Linked DNA regions of Homo sapiens: region 1 is linked to region 2. The links are contacts of gene promoters, found by promoter capture Hi-C in blood cells and fetal thymus (Javierre and others, 2016). All regions are on one chromosome and are shown on one strand. Each heading gives the region's core, a stretch centred on a gene start or on the middle of the fragment in contact. The rest is flanking DNA. Distances are from core to core; before and after follow the strand shown.

Region 1 (3,738 bases), core at 368-2,867, 220 kb after region 2:
GAGGTTGCAATGAGCCGAGATTGTGCCGTTGCACTCCAGCCTGGGCGACAAGAGAGAAACTCCGTCTCCAAAAAAAAGAAAGAAATATTTTCCATCAGCACCTAAACTTCTCCCTCTATTTTGAATAGCCAGTGGACCATAATGTATTTAATTTATTGATGCATGATTAGATTGTTTCTAATGTTTTGATATTCTGAACAATGTTGCAATAAACATCTTGCCGCACTTTTCTGTTAGGAGAGAGTGTGGCACACACTACCGAAGTGCTCTAAAAAAGCTTTCCTTCTGTTTACACATGTCATCTCCCCAACACTATTGTTCTTATCCTATTTTATAGTTGAGAAACCAAAGGAACAGAGGTTAAGTACATGTACAATTTGCATTCCTACTCACAGTGAATGAGAGTGCCTGCTTCCCTACACCCTGCATAAAATGGAATGTTATTGCTTTTAATTCTTTGTTGGTACAAGAAGTGAAAAATTATATTTAATCTTAATTGACATTTATTTCATTATTAGTGAGGTTGAGATTCATTTTGTTTTATTTTTGGAGATGGAGTCTTGCTCTGTCACAAGGCTGGAGTGCGGTGGCGCCATCTTGGCTCACTGCAACCTCCACCTTCTGAGTTCAAGCTATTCTCCTGCCTCAGCCTCCTGAGTAACTGGGACTACAGGCACACGCCATCATACCCAGCTACATTTTTGTATTTTTAGTAGAGATGGGGTTTCACCATGTTGGCCAGGCTGGTCTTGAACTTCTGACCTCAAGTGATCCACTCACCTCAGCCTCCCAAAGTGCTGGGATTACAGGCGTGAGCCACTGCGTCCAGCCTCATTTTATGTTGATCAGTCACCTATATTTCTGCTTTGGCTTGTCAGTTCATTCATGTCATTTGCCCAGTTTTTTACTGAGGCGTTATCTCATTTGTAAGAGCTCTTTATGTGGTTAGACTATTAACCATTTGCTTATTATATGGGTTATAATTATTTTTCTAGTTTGTCATTTGCCTTCTAACTTTATAGTATCTTTTATCATTTAGAAGTTAACTTTTTTTATAATCAAGTTTTTTTGGGGGGTTGAGAGCACCTATATTTTCTAAGGTCTTTCCTACCCCTAGATTATGAGAAATATTCATCTAAATTTTATTCAGCTACTTTTATTCTTTTATTTTTTGCATTTACATTTTAAATTCATCTGCAATTAATTTAATGCCTGGTGTCAGATGGAACTCTTATTAATTTTTTCCCCCAAATGGTTTGACCAGTTTTTCCAACCCGATTTTTTTGAATTGTCTTTCCTTTCTTCACTTATCATAGACCAAATTTCCACATATGGATGGTTTGGTTTCTAAGCTCTCTCATCTCCCTCTTTGATCTGTCTATTCCTACATCAGGTTAGACTTAATGACTTTAGCTTCAGAATATGGTTTAGTAGTAAACATCCCAAGGCCAACCCCTATTATTCTGCAAAATTTCCTTTGGAGTTATACACCCTAATTCTAGTCTGCTAGTGGCTTTACCCTTACCTTTGTCACAAACATATTTCAACATCAGGAATGACACCAGATCCATAGTAGCCTGTCCTCGTGGCCTCTAACCCATAATGATCATGTCGGCTGGACCATACTTCTCTGCTTTCCTCCATACCTCCTAGGTATTGTTATAATTGTCTGGAATTTCGGTTTCCGGTTGTGACTATTTTTTTTTTTTAAAGACAGAGTCTCGCTCTGTCGCCCAGGCTGGAGTGTAGTGGTGCAATCTCGGCTCCTGCAACCTCCATCTCCCAGGTTCAAGCGATTCTCCTACCTCAGCCTTCTGAGTAGTTGGGATTACAGGCGCCCGCCACCACGCCCAGCTAATTTTTGTATTTTTAGTAGAGACAGAGTTTCACCCTGTTGGTCAGGGTGGTCTCGAACTCCTGACCTCGTGGTCTGCCTGCCTTGGCCTCCCAAAGTGCTGGGATTACAGGCGTGAGCCACCCTGGCCGGTTGTGACTATTTTTAAACATTAGCACTATTCTGTTTTAAGAATTATTTACTTAAAATTGCACTTAACTTTCAGTTATCAGTAGTTAAGGCTCTAAATGTTTCCGTTTTCATGGCTTGCCTCTGTCTCTCACATACCACGTCATCTCATTCTTGACTTCTCGATTTTAATTCACTTTTGTCTGTAGAGCTTTCTTGAGTAATTTTTCCAGAAAGGGTCTGTGGGTGGTATCCTTTCTTATCCTTGTAAGCCTGAAAACATTTGCCCTCATGTTTGAGTCATAGTTTGCTTGAGTAGAAAATTCTAAGTGAATCGTCCTTCTCTCCCAGAAGCCTGAGAGCAGTGTTCTGTGGTTTCCCCAGTATTTAGTGTTTTAAGAGCAGTTTTTCCTTGATTCTCTAAAATTTATTTATGGAAACAACCAGGATTCCTCTTTCCAATCTTTGGAATTCAGAAATTTCCCCAGATGATTTCTAGTTGTTTGTTTTCTTTTGGTAATTTTTCCTGGTCCTAACTAGGTAAGTCCTTTCAGTCTGAAGACCCAAGTCTTCCTTTCGTTCAGGGAAATTTTCTATTAATTTAGGAATGGTTTCTATTCTGTGTGTTCAATCTCCTCTTTCTGGACTTCCTACTACAAATAATAATAATAATAATAATGGTGCCTAACATTAAAGCGTGCTTTCTTTCTGTGATAATATATAATCTTCCCAGCACTATTGTTATTATCCTCATTTCATAGATGAGAAAACAAAGGAAAAGAGAGATTGAGCAGATTATACAAGGTCGCATAATTAGGAGGTGCAGGCCAGGTTCTAATCCCAAGCACCTGGCTCCAGAGCCCGTGTCCTTAGCTGCTAAACTATACTCCCTGCCTGTCGGGTCCCAACCCCAGAGCCCACCCTGCCCTTCCCCCCAGCACTCTGTAGTGACAATGTTGAGTGTCGACAGGCAGGGACTCTGTAATCAGTGGGGGAAAGCTTGGGGATGCTAGGATGATGGATCTGAAACAGACTGGGCTACTGAGGCCAGAGAGGGGCAGGGATTGTCAGAGGTTCTCCAGTGAATTTAGAGTTGGGACTCTTCCCTCCCTCCTCTTCCCTTGGTCTCAGCCACCTGCTTCAGGCCTCCTCTTTGTCCCTGGGACTGCTGCATTGCTTCTTGTGGGTCTCCCTCTTCCTACTCCTGTCCATGTAGTCACCTCTGTCAACAGCAGCTGCGATGACTCTTCTTATAGAACACACGCAGTCACCTTCACACTGCTGAGTGTTTGTTGAATGACTGTATGAGTGAGCAAAGAAGTTTACAGTGCCTAATGTGTGTCAAACACTGTGCTAAGTACTGTTGATGCAGTATGCATTAGTCAGCAATCTACCAATTGCAAGTGACAAATACCCAGCTTCCAGGAGTAAATGGAATTTACTGGGTTAGGGAGGGTAGCCTTCAGGCCTAGTTGGATTCAGAGCCTTGAGCAATGTCACTGAGAAGGCCTCAGCCTCTTCATTTCTTGGTTCTATTTACTTAGGTGTTGGCTCACTCCCTTAGTGGTAGCAGTGCTGCTGCCAGAAGGGCCAGGGTTATGGCCATGGCCTTGGAGTTGGACTCCCTCAATCATTTCATCAATAGTCCCTGGGCCTGATCCTCATTGGCCCAAGTAGGATCACGTGCCCATTCCAGCCACTGAGGACAGTGGGATGGGTTAAACTAATGGACTGAGGCCTGGGCCATATGCCTCTCCCTGGAGTGGGAGATGGGT
Region 2 (3,600 bases), core at 83-2,582:
ACAACATAAGCGCCCTTTTAACCTGCCCAACAACATATCCCTTAGAGAGCAGTCACCCTGTTTCATCCCAGGCTCCAGACCCAGAAAGGCTGGAGAGGACATGGGAAAATCTACAGATTCAGTTATGGCTCTGGATGTCCCTGTTGGTTCCAGTTGGAACCAGGCCTCGGTCTGAATCCCATCACTTCTTTCTATTCCAATCTGCTTTCCAAAGGCCTTGGGATATCCAGTAGTCACTCTAAACCACCCTAAACAGAAAGCAGAGAATTCTCTTTTAACTCTCCAGTGCAATATTCCTTGATATACACCAGTACCTATCCGACTGTTCTATTCCATGAAGAAACTGGGACTCAGAGGGCTGTGACTTGCTGAAGGTCACAGGGGCAGAGCCGGGTGGACTGGACCTTATTTCCCTGGTCCCGTTAATGCAAATGCTGATATCTTATCTCCCTCCGTCTCCCCAAATCTCCCTCTGCACACTTCTGTCTTACACTCTGGGAGACCAAGGCATCTTTAGTCGCCAAAACAATGCTCAAAGAAAGAAAAGTATGAGTAGAAACACCTGGAAGCTGGTCTGGTTCGACCCTCTAATGGTACAGATAGGGGAAACCGAGGCCCAGGGAATAAGAGGGTCTTGCCTAGAGTCACACAGGGAGCCAGTTCTAGGCCACCACTCTCACGGTTGCCTCAAATTTTGGGGACGACTTGTGTGCAGTTTTTCCTTTCTGTCGCTTCAGATGGCAAATGCTCCTCTCCCTGCCCATTATATGAACAACTAAAGCTTAATTTGTTTTTGTTTTTGTTTTCAAGAGACGGAGTCTCGAGTCTCGCTCTGTCACCCAGGCTGGAGTGCAGTGGCGCGATCTCGGCTCACTGCAACCTCCGCCTCCCGGGTTCTAGCAGTTCTCCTGCTTCAGCTTCCCAAGTAGCTACAGGCGCACGGCACCACTCCCGGCTAATTTTTTGTATTTTAGTAGAGACAGGGTTTCACTGTGTTGCCCAGGATGGTCTCGAACTCCTGAGCTCAGGCAATCCACCCGCCTCGGCCTCCCACAGTGCTAGGATTCCAGGCGTGAGCCACCGCGCCCGGCCTAAAGCTTATTTTTTATGTGTATGTGGAAAGCGGGGAGAAGAGTCCCCGAAGATGGGAACCTAGCGCCACCCAGCCCAAGGTTGGCCCTCATAACCGCTCTCCGCTTCGACCAAAGGGCGAGGGTTGCCCGCTCCTAGTCTGCCGCTATGCCCCTTTCTCCCACCTCAGGCTCAGTACCCACCGGTGGGCTGCGGGGCTGGAGCTGGGGCCGGCGGGAACGCGGAGCCTGGGGGTGGGAACAGCCTCCGAGCCCTCCCGCGCCTCCGCCCCTAGCAGCAGGCGCACGTTGCTAGGGCGGGAGTGCTGGAGAAAAGCCTCCGGGCACCCTCGCAGGCCGCCGAACCGCAGTTCCGTTCGCCTAAAGCTGGGACGGGAACTGAGCGCCCGGCGCTACTCTCTTCGTGATCAGGTCCAGAGGAGAGGACGCTTGTGCCCAGGACTCCGCTGCCAGAAGAATCTAGACAATCCAAGCAAAACGGGTACCTTTGTAATAGCTATGGAGAAAGCACTTAATAAAGGTCATCTTTTAAATTATTGGTCGCTCAGACATACGTGTTGCCGTATTTCTTTGGAGTTTCCCTGATTTCGACTAGAAATTCCTCCTTTGGACACTCCCCCAGCTCCCCACTCCTCTATTCCTTTCGTTTTTTTTTTTTCATTGAACCATTACAGCCTAGTACCATAGCAAGAAGAGACCCCTCAGTACCTTCTTGAGATCCAAATGGGAAGACAGTTGTAGAAACACAGTTTTTACAGCTGCGGTCGCATTGCTACCAGACTAGAGTCTATTCATCTCCGTATTCCTGGTGCACAGTATGGGGCTTGGTATATAGTAGGGGCTTGTTGAATGTTTGTTGAATGAATCAATGGCAGGGATCCTAGCCAACATTTATTTATTTTTAAGACGGAGTCTTGCTCTGTCGTCCAGGCTGAAGTGCAGTCGCGCGATCTCGGCTCACTGCAACCTCTGCCTCCCAGGTTCAAGCGATTCTCCTGCCTCAGCCTCCCAAGTAGCTGGGACTACAAGTGCGCGCCTCCATGCCCGGCTAATTCTTGTATTTTTAGTAGAGATGGGGTTTCATCATGTTGGCCAGGCTGGTCTCGAACTCCTGATCTCAGGTGATCCACCTGCCACAGCCTCCAAAAGTGCTGGGATTACAGGCATGAGCCTCCGCGCCCGGCCCCAACATTTATTTTGAACCCTAGTAGGTGCCTCTGCAGTGTTGATCTGGCAAAACAGCCTTCAATGAAGATTTGTGGAGTTTCTGAAAATTGGGTGCCTTTGAGGGGGTGGGAATGGTGAGAGAAGTTTGCCTCCACATACTGGCTATTGGGTCTGTTTTCCAGTCCAGGGAAGGGATCCCCTCCATGGCATCCCTGATGAAGTATCTGTAGCCCTAGTTGATGCTCACTCTGTAATGATGGGCTGATTACTTTCTAAGCTAGTGACCTATTGTTGGGAGATTTCCTTCTGGCAGGAGAAAGTATCTACCCGTATGCCACTTGAAACTCTGATCTTCGCTCAGAACCAATGGCTCTCCTTACAGACTTAATCCCTTTCCCCCACAACAGCCTGGCAAGCTACAACCAGGATAGACTCACTGCTTTGTCCTGGGACACTGGGCTAGGCTCAGTGCAGCTACAGAGGTGAGTTACTAGATCTCTGCACCCAAGATGTTCCTGCTCTGGGGATGTTTTTCCCTCTGAGAGAGAGGCTTTAGGCTTCAGGCACGAAAGACTCCCAAACTGGTACCTGTAGCCAGGCCTCTCCCTGAGTCGGACCTGTATATCCACCTGCCACCCGCCCATCTGCAACTGGCAGTTTAAAAGACACCTCATTCTTGACATGACTCATACTGGAAACATCATCTTCCCCTCAAACCTGTTCCCCCTCTTTTCCCTGTAAGTGCTGGGCACTACCATTCACCAATCACCCAAGCCAAGGATCTAGGAGTCATTTGTAACTTTACCCTTGCTTCCTCGTTCAAGAACAATCCCCGAGACTTCTCAATTCTGCCTCCCAAACATTATAAAAATAAAAACCTTCTCTCTACCTACCAGCTGGATTCAGGCCAACATCAGGGTGTGATAGATTAAAAACGACCACAACTTCTTTGTAGCTCTTCCCATCAAGGCTGGCTTTGTAACTTGTTTTGACCAATAGAATGCAGCAGGAGTGACATCGTGGGACTTCTGAGTTTAAGCTTCAAAAGGCCTTGCAGTTTCTGCTCCCATCCTCTTGGCACACTGCCAGCATGGGAAGAGGACCAGGCTAGTCTGTTTCAGAGACATGGCCCATCCAATAGCTAGCACCAAATGCCAGCCATGTGAGTGACTGTTGCCCATGCTGGAGTGCAGTGGTGCGATCTCGGCTCACTGCAACCTCCGCCTCCTTGGTTCAAGCGATTCTCCTGCCTCAGCCTCCTAAGTAGCTGGGATTACAGGTGCGTGCCCCCACATCCCGGCTGATTCTCGTATTTTTAGTAGAGACGGGGTTTCACCATGTT

The links. The method cuts DNA at HindIII sites, captures the fragments that hold promoters and counts their contacts. A CHiCAGO score of 5 or more calls a contact.
Region 1: a contact is called between a fragment that was not itself captured here and the fragment with the promoter of WDR31 in region 2, in 1 of 17 cell types (erythroblasts). The highest score is 6.0, in erythroblasts.

What each region holds. Positions count from the first base shown.
Region 1 is chr9:113,553,776-113,557,513 of GRCh38, forward strand. All of the region lies in intron 17 of RGS3 (regulator of G protein signaling 3), which reads left to right. Among named protein-coding and RNA genes, the nearest start is that of RGS3, 92 kb to the left of the region's middle. The HindIII fragment of the contact is 2,685 bases long and covers 276-2,960 here.
Region 2 is chr9:113,338,943-113,342,542 of GRCh38, forward strand. WDR31 (WD repeat domain 31) reads right to left here and starts at 1,333. Exons shown (of 11, transcript NM_001012361.4): 1 at 1,275-1,333. RefSeq lists a silencer at 1,103-1,342. The HindIII fragment of the contact is 2,200 bases long and covers 1,096-3,295 here.